2 separate regions of the Homo sapiens genome follow, and region 2 is linked to region 1. Evidence: promoter capture Hi-C in 16 types of primary human blood cells and fetal thymus (Javierre and others, 2016). All regions are on one chromosome and are shown on one strand. Each heading gives the region's core, a stretch centred on a gene start or on the middle of the fragment in contact. The rest is flanking DNA. Distances are from core to core; before and after follow the strand shown.

Evidence for each region. The method cuts DNA at HindIII sites, captures the fragments that hold promoters and counts their contacts. A CHiCAGO score of 5 or more calls a contact.
Region 2: a fragment that was not itself captured here is called in contact with the fragment with the promoter of NR2E1 in region 1 in 1 of 17 cell types (megakaryocytes); the score reaches 5.3 in megakaryocytes.

The regions. Positions count from the first base shown.
Region 1 is chr6:108,162,119-108,169,719 of GRCh38, forward strand. It overlaps NR2E1 (nuclear receptor subfamily 2 group E member 1), which reads left to right and starts at 3,904. Exons shown (of 9, transcript NM_003269.5): 1 at 3,904-4,672. The coding sequence starts at 4,648. RefSeq lists enhancers at 1,144-2,045, 2,947-3,848, 4,749-5,650, 6,551-7,452, 7,453-7,601. The HindIII fragment of the contact is 9,879 bases long and covers 317-7,601 here.
Region 2 is chr6:108,363,500-108,370,502 of GRCh38, forward strand. It overlaps AFG1L (AFG1 like ATPase), which reads left to right. Exons shown (of 13, transcript NM_145315.5): 6 at 2,734-2,833. Among named protein-coding and RNA genes, the nearest start is that of AFG1L, 72 kb to the left of the region's middle. RefSeq lists an enhancer at 1,876-2,418. The HindIII fragment of the contact is 1,049 bases long and covers 1,834-2,882 here.

The DNA of each region.
Region 1 (7,601 bases), core at 2,654-5,153:
TTGAATTATGATGTGGAAGCAAATGCAAATCAACTTCCTCCTTCATATAAACAAACAAACAAACAAACAAACAAAAACTTGTGTCAGAATGTTTTTGGATACTAAACATCAAAACTCAGCCAAGCTCAGCTGGTAGGTTTTCCCAGCGATTTCCTTGGTCTGAGCATCTCTTAACTCTGCATATCGGTAAGGGGAATGGTATTTTAAAGGAGTGACTCTCTAGAGGTTGAATGGCCTCTGTGAGGGGTCGATCACAGGGGATTGGGGAAGGGGTCTCTTTAACACCAATTCCATCAGCTCTGCTAGCTGATGGGAAAGCTTGTCCTTTCACCTTCGGTATTTTAATTTAGAAGAATGTGTGTGTGTGGAGGGGGTGTTAATGGAAAAAATGTCACCGTTTTTAGAGAAGCTAGTGAATGGCAGGGCTAGCAGTCAACCTCAGATAGTCTGAAACTTTGAGGGGTGCTCTGTACCCCTGCCTCTCTCATACAACCTAGTTAATAGGATTCTCTTTAACAGGGCACTAGCAGAGGAATGAGCTATAATACAATACAGTCCTCAGAGGACTGTAGAATCAGTAGATTCTCCTAACACAAGGCCAGCTTTCCAGGGCAATTCTGGACAGCCTATGTCACCGCACACTGGTTTAGGGCTCCTTGTATATATCTCCAGTGTCCTGTGTTTCATCCCAATCTAAAACATTTATCATCTTTTATGTGTCTGCTCCCTGCTACATGGAGAAAGGAGTCATGTCATTAATCTGCTATATCCCCAGGGTCTGGCATATAGTGGGTGCTCAGTATTTGATGAGTGGGTAGATTGATGGATGGGCAGAAATACCCCTTGATCCATGGTCCTCTCATGATCTTATTTCCTATCTCTTGGACCAAAATGTAAACATCCTTCGATAAAAGAACCTTCCCTGCGTTTTAGGCTTTGGTTTTGGTTGAGAGCTCCATACTCACAAGCGCCTACAGAGGAAATTAGGGGCTATGTCTGAACCTGTTTAGAAGGGTTTCAGAACCTCTGAGGGTGTGGCTATCCCCACCACCTTCCAAAGCAATAAACTTATCCTTGTAACTTAAGGTCTTGTCTCTGTTAAAAGATAATTCTGAGCCAGATGGCATTTGCCCCTTATCAATCATTTCCTTTAATGGACTCACAGGAAAAAATCTTTGAAAGTTAAGACCGAACAGGGTGAGAATCCTTTTACAAATAACAATCTGGAACCCAGAGAGGTCTAGCCACTCGCCTAAGGTCACACAGCTTGTTGGCACAGCCCTGAATCCCTATCTCGTGGTTTCCAGCGTTTAGCCTGGCTGTGCCTCCAGTGGCCCCTCAGGGCATCTGCAGGTGACTTCCCTTCATTTGCCCAACATTTATGCAGCACCTACTATGAATCAGGCAGCATGCTGGGGCCTGTGGATAGAAAGATGAAGAGCCATAGTCTTTGTCCTGCAAAGGCTTTCTTCTCTGAGCTGTACCCATGGTAGCCCCAAGTTTCTACGCCTTAAATCCGAGGTCCCCCGTGGCCTGCAGCAGCTTTGCCTGAGTAGAAGGCAGCCCGCACTAAGGCTCCAGGCTTATTTGGGACCTGGTGGGCGACGGGGCCTCAGCCCCTCCCGCCTACCCTGGAGCTTGTTGCCGCCGTTACCACTGAACCAGTCATGCCAGAAAGTCATCACGATGATTTCAGAACTGTATTGTGATTTATGCAAAGCGCGCCGATAATTACAGCCGGGCGCACAGAACACAGGATGCATATGCTGCGGGTGTGTGCGCGCAGTGTTGTGCCTTTCGCCAGGGCTGAATGGGGTGTGTGTGTATTCCGTAGGCATCTTCTTGACACCATGCTTGATCGGGGACTGGTGACAGGAAAAAGAGGGAAGATACCCATTTTGATTTTGAGACAATTTGATGAGCCTTGGGAGTATTTTCCAGAAGTTTTGGTGCCTACAAATGAGCCAGCCTGGCAGGAGCGTTCGAGAGTAGGGGAAGAGGTGGTTTGGAGCCCAGGAAAGCCATCGTCCAGCCCCCGCACAGGCAAAGCAATTAGTAGTTCTCCTTCTCGAAACAGACCCCTAAATGCTTCCCCTGCAGACAGGCCTGGGTCTAGTCATCACCCCCCACACTGCCCTCATCTTCGCCCCAGATAAATTAGTTCCACCCTTGAAGTTCTTTGTCCTGAACCAAAGAACCCCATAATCGCGTCCGCGTTATGGGGGTGGTGGTGGTAGGTGGCTGAAGCAAGTGGATTTCTGGCGTGAACCAGAACCTGAGGATTCCAAACGGAGCCTGGCATCTTATTGTGTTTCTCAAATCCTGCCCGAAATTCCTCCCCTCTCTGGGCGCCGAGTTCGAGAAAGCGCTACGCCGCCGGTCGGGCTAGCTCCACAAGCGGCTGTACAAGTTGGCTGTCAAAAAACGCTGATTTCTCCTCCTGTCACCTAATAAACCCCTACGCGCTTATGGCCTCGTCCCACAATCCCCCAATCTCGTCCCAATTCGAAAAACCGAGGAGGAGGGAATAAACTGAGAGATAAAGATCCCCCCATCTTGCTCTTTCCCCGGGACCCCAGCCTTGGTCGCGGCGCCCCACTAAGGAGGACACAGGCTCTGGTGTGTGTGGTGTGCGAGACCCCGAGCTCGAGGCCGAGCCAAGGCTGGGCAGAAAGTTGCAATCACGTGCTGTCGGAGCCCACTGGAGCGCACAGCCCGCTCCCCCTGGGACGCCCAGGCGGAGGACCTGCTGCGCCCTCCCAGGGCTCGGGGGACTCCAGCATTCACTTGCACGCACAGGCGAACTCTGATTGAAAGCCCGGGATGACACCGAGTCTGGAGAAAGAGGGACCGGGGGGTGGGCTGGCGGAATTGCAGAGCGCCGGCCACAGCTCCCCTCCCCGCGAACGTCGAGCGGAGGGCGGGAGGTGTAACCTCTGACCTCTGGCCGGGTCCACGCCCTGAGGAGGGACTGGCAAGCTCTTGTTCGACAAGTTCAAGCTGCCGAGAGAGCTTAAATAGAATTAATCTCTTAGAGATCGGGGATCATCGCTCCCTCGGCATGCGCTCTCCCAGCGCCGCGCACAGAGCAAGGCGCGAGAGAGCTCAGGAATCGCGGGAAGGCAAGCGGAATGGGGAGGGGGTAGGGGATGAGGGCCTCTCTTCACTATTCCTCCGCCCGGAGAGCGGGAGCCCGCAACGCCCGCCGAGGACGAGCGGCGGGAGGGAACGCTCTGCCCTCCAGCCGCCCCGGTGCAGATAATGGAGGCGACAAGAGATTCGCTCAGCGTCGGATGGGCCAGCTCTGCTTGGGGAAGCTGGCGGCATCCTCCCCTCGGCTGGTGCCCAAACCCACTGCGCGAAGGCCGAAGGAACGCGGAACCTCCAGAAGACCCCATCCTCAGCCCTGACTTTCCGTAGATATGTGCAAAATGAGTAAATTACTCACCTCGGGCCAGATCCAAGTTTTACCCAACAGAAGGGGCACCGGACCAAGAATGAACCAACTCACATGGCCATGTCCGGCGCGCACAATCACACGCCAGCACACAGCCACCCAATTTCTTCCGCGAATCTATCTGGCACTCTGGAGAGAGGGGGAAAAGCGTTTTGAGAAAGCCCCGTCACCCCTCCCCTTCCTTCTTGCCGTGAAATATACGAATTCATTTTTATTACGAGCCGCACCGTCCTCACCATCACGCACGCACAGAGCCACACTCCCATATTCACACTTTCTAACTCGTAAGCTCCGACAGCGCCTGCATTTTCTTTGGGAGCCGCTTGGAGGTTCATTAATATCATTAGCATTTAACCCCCTCCCTCTTCCCATCCCCTCCCCGCACATGGCTGACGTCAGACCCCGCCAGGAGTTGGGGGAAAAGCTAAGTGGGCCAGGGACGCCCTATTCCCCTCCCCGCGGCTGCCTGTCAGAGCGCTTCTGGAGATATTACAGGGGACCCAGCCCGCAGCGACAGGCACAAAGTCACGGGGTAATGAACTTCGGGGACCCTTCGCCGCTGCGTGCGCGGCTCTCCCCGGAAACCCGGACCTGGCCGCCTCTTCCCTCGGAAGATTTCCCAGCAATCTAGTTTTCCCACTCTGCGCTTGGGTTCCGGCAGCGCGGAGCCCGTCTGCCTCTGAGACTGCGGTAGTGTTTTCCTTCTTTCCTTGGGAGACCAGCGGTCGGCAGAGATTGCCCACACTCTGCATGCCTATGTAGAGGGAGAGATCGAAGACTGAGTGACAGGAATGGGGAAAAAGAGGGATTTCGCTCCGTAGGAAGGCCATTTTCGTGTCTCCATCTCTGTCTTTCAACATCCCTCTCTTGCTGTTCTTCCTTCTTCCTCAGTCTTCCTGTCCATCTCTCCATCTGTCTGTCCATGTGTGTGTCCATATCAAGCAGCATTCCCAGCAGCTGCGGTTTTGCAAGAGCCGGGAAGAAACTTAAGGATGCTTAAATTTCCACTGTTGGACGAATTCTGAGCGCCCAGGGAGCAGCGCAGCGCGCGACTGACACCCACCTGTCCCGCCCAGGAGCCTTGCAGGCTGGAGGGCAGCTGGAGAGCGGCGGCGCCCGGCGGCGAGGCGGGCGCTGCCGGCCGGGACTCGGGCAGCGCCCACCAACCGCTCCGCCCCGGGACAGCCAGCATGAGCAAGCCAGCCGGATCAACAAGTGGGTACCTCTCGGGCCGCCGTGGGGCCTAGGCGCGCAGCCTGGGGCGAGCGAGCGGGGAGGCTGGGGGAGGTCCTGCCTGGAGCGCTGCGAATCTGAGCCCCTGAGAGGGATTCCAGCGGGCGTGTGCGTTCGGCCCAGACCTGTAGACCGTGAGTTGGAGCATTTCGTGGAGAGGGGAGAGCCGTTTCGTTGCCTCTGGATTGCTTGATCCCCCCTGTCTGGTGCGGTGAGAAGGTTACGACCCGCGCAGCCCACCAGTCGGATGAGTTGTCTCCATTTAGCCGCCAGGTGCTGGATGGGGGGGCCATGGGGGCGGGAACTGGGCCGCAGCTCCAGGCGGTAGCACAATAACACACTCGCTCAAAACTCCGAGCTCCAGCGCGCAAAAGCAACTCTGTGCAAAGCGGATTTTGAATGGAATGCTTTGCACCCCGTTTCTAGCTATTTCAAATAATCCTGCAAACTGGGAAGCAGAAACAATTTAAAAGTCACATTTTCCTTAATCCTAAATCCGCGTAGGTCATAACTGGGGAATTTAAAGTATGGCGAACCACTCTAGCAAAGAGAGGACCAAATCCCTAATCCCAAGGACTTTTCGAGCCGGAGCCCAGCAGAGGCAGGAGTGCGCGGCCTGCTCCCTCCGTGCGCTTCTCTCCTTCCTCGAACTTCCTTAGCTGCCGGCTCTCCGAACGCCAGGCCGCAGCTGACCTCTCACCACCCCGAGACTCACGAGCGCAGGGCTAAGTGTGTGTGCGAGGGCATTTGCTTGCACCCTGCCTGCGGAACCCAAGAATGTGCAGGCCCGAGCCAGCGTTGAGCAGGCGCGGTCACGGTGCTCAGATCTCCCGGGGGCATTTCAGTTCCCGCCATCCAGTGGCCCACGGCTGCGGGCTCCAGGGTCTGAGGCTGGGGACTACCGTTGCCGCCGCAGTCCCCATATCCCGAAGTTGCCTTGCTGCTTGTGTTGTTTTCGCAGATAGCATTTTTGGCGCTCTGTGCGTTCCTTCCCTCCCCCTCCCCCTTTCACTCGCCCTCATTGTCCTGAGTCTTTGAAAGTTGGGAGAATCGGAGATACTTCTGAGGACTGGTAATGAAGTCTCACTTAAGTGGGATGCAATTCCCGCCCTCCTACCCCCCTCCAAGAAGGAGGTTGTGTTTTCATTTTGTTTTGCTTTGGGTGCTGACCTTTAAAAAATTAGAGCAAAATGAACGTGAACAAAAAGAAAAGGAGAAATGTTTCGAGCTGGGGCAGAGGGAGCAGAGAAGGAGCCCTCACCGCGGCCGGAATGCAGAGCGGACCCTGGCCCAGGACTGGGTTTCCCTTTAGGCTCGGGCCTACCCTGGCCCTCGCTGTTGGAATCTCCAGGAGGTAAAGCGACCTCGATTTTTGTTGCCCGCATTCCCGGGCGTGAGTGTCCTTCCCAGGAGGCTCAGGAGGCCGTTTCTGTTGCATTCTGAGCCTCCGTTGCAAAAACTGAAGCCCGTGGGTCTCGGCAGGCCTCCTAGCTCGCTCGCCCCGGGACAGGCCCTCGCCTACACCCCTGGAAGTAAGGAGCCCCGGGCTCTTTCGTCCTTTTCGGGGTGTGGAGCCCCTGGGGCCCTTGAAAGGTGAGGCCTCAGAGGCGAGGGAGGGGTGAGCGGGGAGCTCTGCCCGCCTGCGGCTGCGCCCCCGCTGTGGACTAGGAGGCAGGCCAACCCTCCGGACTTTGGGGGAAAAACCACAGCGGGCTCCTTGCGGAAACTTTGGCCGTTCTAACTTGCCAAGAGCCTGAGTGAGGCCTTGGAAGCCTCCAGCCCCGGCTCAGGTCGGGACGCGGCTGCTGAGCTTTCTCAGGCCCGCAGGACAGCGGCCCCCGCCGGTGGCGCCGCTGCATTTAGGCCCTTTCCAGACCGGTGGCGGCAGCCAACCCGAGACTTGCGTCCCTCGGGCCCGGGGCAGCTAGGAGGTCGGCGCGCAGCGGGCCGGGTCAGGACTGGGTCGAGCAGACAGAGCTGCAGCCCCCGCCTTGCCCGGCTTCTCGCGGCTGGAGAGCAGAGCGATGTCACCCGGAGCCCCGCCTGGGTGGTAACGAGACCCTGGCCAGTCACCCCTGCAGCCCAGACTAACTTCTTTCAACAGCCTCTGATGGTAATTACAGTAATCGAAGCTGCCATATATCTTTAGGCAATTATGACACACAAAAAGCCCCGAGGGGACCCCCTGGCGAGGGAAGTTAAGAACGGTTTTCCAGCTTCAGGAAACTCCGGCTCGCCTCACGTCGGAGCTCGCTCGGCTTGCTAAATGAGAGGAGCTTTGCAACGGGGTCAACCAGCTTGTCTCGTGACCCCAAGTCACCTTAACGTGGCTGGGTGGCGGAGTCTGAGGCACAGGCCCGCTATGCCCCGGAATTTTCGCGTCCCTCCCTCCTGGGCCCCGCCCCAGCCCGGTTGCCTGTTTCTAATCTGCCCCGGGAGCCGCGGCTCAGAGGTCTGCTCAGAGGCAGGACTCGCACTGGTGGTGGCCTAGAGGGCAACAGTCCGGAAGCTCGGGCGGGGGAATCCGAGGAGGGGCCCCCACCCTGCACTGGTCTTCCCTCCACCCTCATCGGGTTCTCCAGAGATGTTGTCATGGGCCTCCTGTCCGGATGGGAAGTGGGGAAAAAGAGACCCCACCACTGCTCCTCCCACTCACTCATCTTGGCATCTTCAACAGTGCCACAGGGAAGAGGACAGCTGGGGTGACAGTACTGCTGGGCCCCAAACGTGGACCCTGGAGCGGTCAGAGGGCGCGTGTTAAGCAGAGGATGGTTGTAAGATATGGAAACCAAGTTTACCGCTTCCAGAGTGAGTGCAGTGCAGCGGAGCTCCAGACCCGGTTCCTGAGCGACCAGGAACTCCCTTGGGCGCAGTGACAGGCCCGAAGGAGTGGAGGACAAGACCCGCTGTG
Region 2 (7,003 bases), core at 1,108-3,607, 200 kb after region 1:
TTGGTTGGTGAAATAAATAATAGCTTATCTTCAGAGTTTTCCTTAGGATCTTCATTATGTCCTCTTGGAATATTTATGTTACATGTTAAACTGTTTATGATTCTGAAGACATCAGATTAGTGAGGAAAACTGATTTTTAAAAATGTTATTTCTTCATATCTCTTCTGAGAGGGACACTAAATAGATGTTTTACTAATATGGGTCCAGAAAAAAAAAAAAGAATTCTGATGAGCAGAAGATCATGCAAAATTCTCCTCTATCAGCTATCAATATCATTTAAAAAATAGGTTTAACCATTTTTATGAAGCAGGAAGAAAGCTATTAAAAACTGCTAATAAAAAATAGGTGCTTATTTTTGTGCTAATCCTAATTACTGATAATGCATGCTTATGTTTGTCACTCATTATATGGCACTGTACCAATCAGTGGATGACTGAGACTCAAGCACTCACACATGTAAATTAACCATTAGATTTTTTTTCTTTTTTACTTAAGTGAGTCATAATGGAAAGCAACTCTAGGTTATAAAAAAATCTTTTCTCTTTAATGCTAATGAAATGTCTCCACTCTCTGTATTAGCAGACTACCCTTATTGGTAATCTGTAGCCTTCTCTTTTGTTCGTGGTGGTAATGAAATGCTGGGTACTGAAAAAGCCAGCTCTCCAAGAATGTGTGGCCAATTGTCTTCTGTTCACTTATACTGTAAAATTACCGTTCCCCGGCAAGGCCGAACAAGTGCGGGGACAAGATCAAAAGAGTATACATTGGCACCCGGCTACAGCAAGTGACTCCTGCTTTATTAATTAGTCATAGCTTCTCCAAGCTAATTTACTCTGATAGGGCAAAAACATTCTGAAATATAAAAACAGCAAATTATAACTCAACTACAAGCCTTTACTGTTTGCTTTCTTCAACTTTCAGTTTAAACCTTTGCATTATGTTACAAGCTAAATGTCCCTTCAGTTTTCTAAACCTTAGGGCACAAAAGCTATTTTACATTTTTTTCAAAGACATTAATCATACAGTCAAATGACCATTTTTATTCTCTAAAATCGGGTAAACTTTCATTGATACTGTTCTTTTAAAAAGTCAGTGTATTGGCAATGTAATTTAAAAGTGCAGTTGCTATTAAAATGTGCAAGCTCGTTCTGTCCTCTCATCAGAAATGCCACTGGTGTTCAAGCATTTGAAAAGGACTTTCTCTGTCAGTGTTTTTGCGGAAGCCAAATTTGACAGTGATCCTAAACTCCAAATTAAATAATATCAGCACCACTTTCCTTTTCATTTAATCACCATTTTGAAGTTCCTGAAGTCTTTTTAATGTAAGGAATCTTTAGCAGTTTTTTAGTTATAACCTGAGACAGCCAAAAAAAAAAAAAAAAAAAAAGTACATCTCTATTTCATGGTTTTGTTGTTTTCAGGTGGGAAAGAAGATATTAGCTGTAAAAAGAAAAGTGATTTAGACCTGTGCAACCCAGGTTATTGTTAATTGCATTATAACCATTCGGTTTGTAACTTTTAGTATTTTGATTTAATTGAAAGAATTCACCAATTTTTATGTCCTCTAATGGGGTTTAAAAATAACAATGTACTATATCTTGTGGATATATGTAAAGCAAGTTGTACTGAGATTATTTGAAATGTGCTATCAAAGAAAGATCAAAACATTTTTACATTGGGAGTATCTAAAGTCCATGTTATTATATACTTAGGGGAAGTTGCAATGATTGATGTCAATCTTCATTACACATTTATTTTTGGAGTCAACTTCTTTCCCTTCTTAATTGTTGTCTTTGTGAATTTTAAAAGCCTTTAGAAAAAGTTACATCATTAAGCTTACTTCGTAATTGTGAATTTAAAAAATAATTTTAGAAAAGATCAATAAACCTAACTTGGATGGAATAGTTTCATCTGTATTATGCATTTCTTGTATTGTCACAAGTTATTTTTTTAAGGGACTATATTAGCCATTCTTGAAAGGTGGTTTTTTTTGTTTTTTTTTTTTTTGGTAGAAGGAATATTTGTGTTTGTGAAGGTTAGCAGAGGCTGGCTGTGCTGGAAGTGACTGCAGTGCCTTTTGATTATTCATGGACAGTAATAGAAGGCACTTAAAAAGAACAATGAAATTGCTTATTTTTGTGATGGGCCATCTGTTGAATTGTTTTGTGCAACAATTGCACAATAGTATCTATGTCATATCATTCTATTTTCAACAGCAGCTGATTATGTCTCACTGGCTACTTGTCCTTATTTCTAAAGGCCCATGACCATTTAAAGTCACCTTTCCAGGGACCTTTGCCAGAAAGGTATTAGAAATCTCAAACAGCCTGTGTATTTTATTATTATTATTTTTTCATCTCTCTTTTTTGAGGGGGTGTGGGAAGCGGGTGGGAAGAGGAGGAGGGTGTTGGTCATGTTAGTTCTAATTAATTAGACTTCCTAAATGTTTAGGACAATTATCTATGCTTTCCACCTGTAGTTCTATAAAAGAAGTTATCATAGAACCATTTGGTAATTTGTGTAGAAATGATAGGCTTGCAAAAAAGAAGAGTCAAGTTTAAAAGACTGCTATACAGTGTTTCATGCTTTTAATTATCTACTCTTTTCTTCATGATGATAATTAGAATTTTTCTCTTGGAATTTACTTCCATCTTAAAAAAAAAGATGATCCACTAGCAAATTTGTTACAGCAGAAGTGAAATTAAAATAAAACAAATGTGTTGTTGTCAATAGGTCACTGACATTGCTGATGCCATGATTCTGAAACAGCTTTTTGAAAATCTGTTCAAAAACGGGGTCGTCGTTGTGGCAACATCCAACAGGCCACCGGAAGGTAAAAACAAACATTGTGCTAGTCTCATCCAATTAGGTGGAAACTAACAAGCTTTTAAAAATCCATAATTTTGAACTAAATGTATTGTGTTAATAAATCTGATGACTTTGCTTATTATTAGTTTTATAACTGGCTTAATCTGAAAAATCAGTTGGTATTTGCATTTGAAAAGTTTTGTATCCTTAGCAAGCTAAATCCAGTTGATTCCCATGTTTGGTGCACTTGCTGTTTTTTTGTTTTTTTTTTTCCCTAAATATTAGATATGTCATATGTGCTTAGCAAAAAATGCAGGCCTTTTGGACTGCTTTTTATGGCCCATAAAAGAAACTCAACCAAATGAAAGACGAAACTCATAATTAAATTTTAGAAAAAGACCGAAAACTTGCTTGCATGAATAGTTTCTAATACTTCACTTAAATTATCATTTCTAAAAAAGCACTTGTGGCTTATTAGGAAAGTACTTAAAAATTAAAATACAAGTAATATTTAGATTAAAAACAACAACTTTAAAATCTTGCATCTTTCAGCCCATCACGTGCTCAGTTAAAGGTCTAAGAAACCACAAATATTTCATGAGAGACTTAATGGGAACATCTTTCTGCCTGGAGTGCTGTTTCTCCAGATATCTGCATGGCTAAGCCCTCACCTCCTTTGTCTTTGCTCAGAAGTTACATTGCCAGTGAAGCCTAGACTTGTCTCCCTGTTTGAACCTGCAACACATCCCTTTCTTCTTGGTGCTGCTTCCCTTTACCCTGCTCTCTCTTTTACCCATAGCACTATGGACCTACCATATAATTTACTTATTTATTATATTTATAGTTTATTGTCTGTTCCCTTCCAGGATACAAAAGCTTCATGAGGGCAGTGATTTTTATCTCTCCTGTTCTCAGATGTGTTCTCAGCACCTATAACAGTGTCTTACACATAGATGGTTCTCAGTAAATAGTCTTAGAATGAACATTGGATGATTGCATGTTTTAAAAAGATCTCTCTGGCTGCAGTGTTGAGAATAGAGTGTGGGTATGGGGTTTCAGGGTTAGAAGTAAGGAGACCTTTTAGGAGACTACTGCAGCAATCCCAAGGGGAGGGGAGGTGATGGAGCAGTAAAGTGGTGAGAAGAGGGCAGGTTCTGGATGTACTATATAGGCAGAGTCAGCAGGATTTACTGATGGAATGGAGCTAGAGTATGAAAAAAGAGAGAGGGATCAAGAGTAACTCAAAGGTTTTGGCCTGAGCAATTGGAAGGATAAAGTTGCTGTTTACTGAGATGGGGAAGACTACAGAAAAAGCAGATTTGGTTAGGGAGGTGGAGGTAGGGGTTTCTGTGGTGACAAGGGGGATACATATAAGAGTTTGGACTTCATTGGAAAAGTCTGGGCTGGAGATATACATTTGGAAGTTATCAGTCCTCAAGGAGGCAGGAAAGAGCAGCTGGTGAGGTAGGAGGAGAACCAGGAGAGTGTCAAGTGAGGAAAAGAAAAGTAGTACAAAAAGAATTGATGATTACTTCTGTTAAGTGCTGCTACAAGCTGAAAATGAGGTTGAGAATTAACCATTGCAATTAGTAACATGGAATTCATTAGTGAGTCTGAAAAGAGTAATGCCATAGTGGGAACTTTTTTTTTAAAGTAAGCTATGCCACATTGATGGTGTATATTGAATTTTAAATTGCTAACAGACCCAGATCTTACTATGTAGCCTGCTGTGAAACTAGGTCTCTCTCATTCTATGTTTGTGTAGTGGATTTCTTTTTCTTCTATTACATTTCAGCTTATTAGTCTTATGTTGTTCCATTTTATTGATTTTTATTGAAGTATTTTTTATTTTTATTTTTGTTTTTTGTTTTTATTTATTTATTTTTGTTTTGCAAATGGAGTATGTTTGAAGTATTTTTGAAGTATGATTCTAATATAATTTTTTTTTGGCTATCCCTACTATGACATTTATACATTTGATAATCATATTTCTATGTCTTTAGCCATTCCTTAATTAAAATGTGTAAATCAGATAGGACTAAATTAAGTTACTTGTTGCATACCACTGGAGGCCTTATCTTAGGAAGACATCAATTAACTAATCAACACCTTTTGGATCCAGTTATTCAAACAATTATAGTCATACCTCATCCATTGTACTACAAAAGAATTATGAGTGATTTTGCAGATGTACTTATTAAAATCCATATAATGTTATATACAGCATTCTTGTGATTAACTAGTGTTAGCCACCCTATGAGCCAAGGGAGTGAGCTTTTTAATATTAGATCTTCTATCTAGGTGGAAGTGAAACTTGTCTCTACTACAGCTGATGTGTTGATTTGACAGTGGCATCAGTATTACCTTTAGACATTCAGTGACAAGCTATGCTCGTAAATAGCAAAGAGCTAGAACAATTTTGGAAGCCCTTTAGCAAAGACTGCTGAAAGGATAATTAGGCTGCTCAGACTATGGCAGTGTGGTTAACTAACTGAGGAAGGACAGCCACCAGGAGGGATTAAGGAATGTTTTGCAGCTCCTAGCTTTGTAGGAGTGAACAAAGCTACCGGTGTGTCAGGGTAGCCTGCAGAAATCTGAGCTGGAGCCACCCTTCTGGAGAAGACTGTAAGTTCAAGATGCGGAATTGCAAAAATTGGACAAACTTAGAGAAAGCCTTTTCTAAATATAAACAGTGGAAGGAATGGGATGCTTGTCACAGACCAGGTTTTTTAGCCACAGCAGACAATCATCATAAATAACTTAATATTTTAAAGTAATGAAGATGACATGTATATGTGTGCGTGTGTGTGTGTATAATTTTATTTGTGGAGAAAAAGACTCAGAGAGACTAAGCATATCAGGAAGAGGTAAAACTGTAAGACGAAGAATGAAGCAGTGATTGCCAAGGTCCAGGGTGAGGAGGTGTTTGACTACAAAGGGGCAGGCTCAGGATGCAACTGCTGCATCCAGATTGTAGTGGTGGTTACATGTGCTAAAAACTCATAGAACCGTAGGCCAAAAAAGTTACATATTATAAGTAAATTAAAAACAAATGACATGGATAGTGAATGACAGAACAAAGACTAGAACTTAGGTTTTGTGACTCTTTTTACACATTGTTTTCTATCTTTTTGCCTTATGGTCATCACTGATCTCTGTCTATCCTGTCCTAGAGAAAGAACGTCCTTTTCTTAAAACAGCAGCTCAAAGTACTGTATTAAAAAAAGGTGGGAGGGGGAGAAGAAAATAAAGAAGAGTGTCCTCTTTTCCAGCCATCAAAATGCGTTCAACTTTTTTTAGGTCACAATTTTTTTTTTTTGGAGACGGATCCTTGCTCTGTCGCCCAGACTGGGGTGCAGTGCGCGATCTTGGTTAACTGCAACCTCTGCCTCCTGGGTTCAAGCAGTTCTCCTGCCCCAGTCTCCCAAGTAGCTGGGATTACAGGCACCCACCACCATGCCCAGCTAATTTTTGGTATTTTTAGTAGAGACAGGGTTTCACCATGTTGGCCAGGCTGGTCTTGAACTCCTGACCTCAGGTGATACACCTGCCTCGGCCTCCCAAAGTGCTAGGATTACAGGCGTGAGCTACTGCACCCAGCCCCAGATTGATCTGGCTGGCTGGCTGGCTGGCTGGCTGGCTATCTATCTATCTATCTATCTATCTATCTATCTATCTATCTTTTAAAATAGAACCAACTTCTTAGACTGCTACAAGAGCTGGCAGAGGGTTGAGGCAAAGCTGAGTGGCTGGAGAAATGACCCATTTGAGGTAGCCAGTGGGGCTAGAGTGGAGAGTGAGGGGGAGAAGGATGCAGTAAGGTACAAGTTGATCTGTAGAGGAAAGAGCTAAACCTTTTAGCGTAATAAGGATTTTGGATTTTATTCTAAGAGAAACGCTAAGCCACTGAAGCTTATCTTAAGCAGGGACTGATGTGATCTGAGTTGGAAATATCCTTCTGGCTGTAGTTTGGAGAATAGGTTACTAGATGGGGTATAGTAATATGATGCATGCAGGGAGACATATTAGGAAGCTGTTGTAGCACACTAGACAAGAAATGATGATACCTTGGTATAAGGGTATAAGGCAGTGATTTTCAGTGAGGGGCCTCTTTTGCTCACTAGGGAATATTTGGTAACATCTGAGACATTTTTGGTTGTCTCACCTGGTGGAAGAGGGCTGCTACTGGCATCTA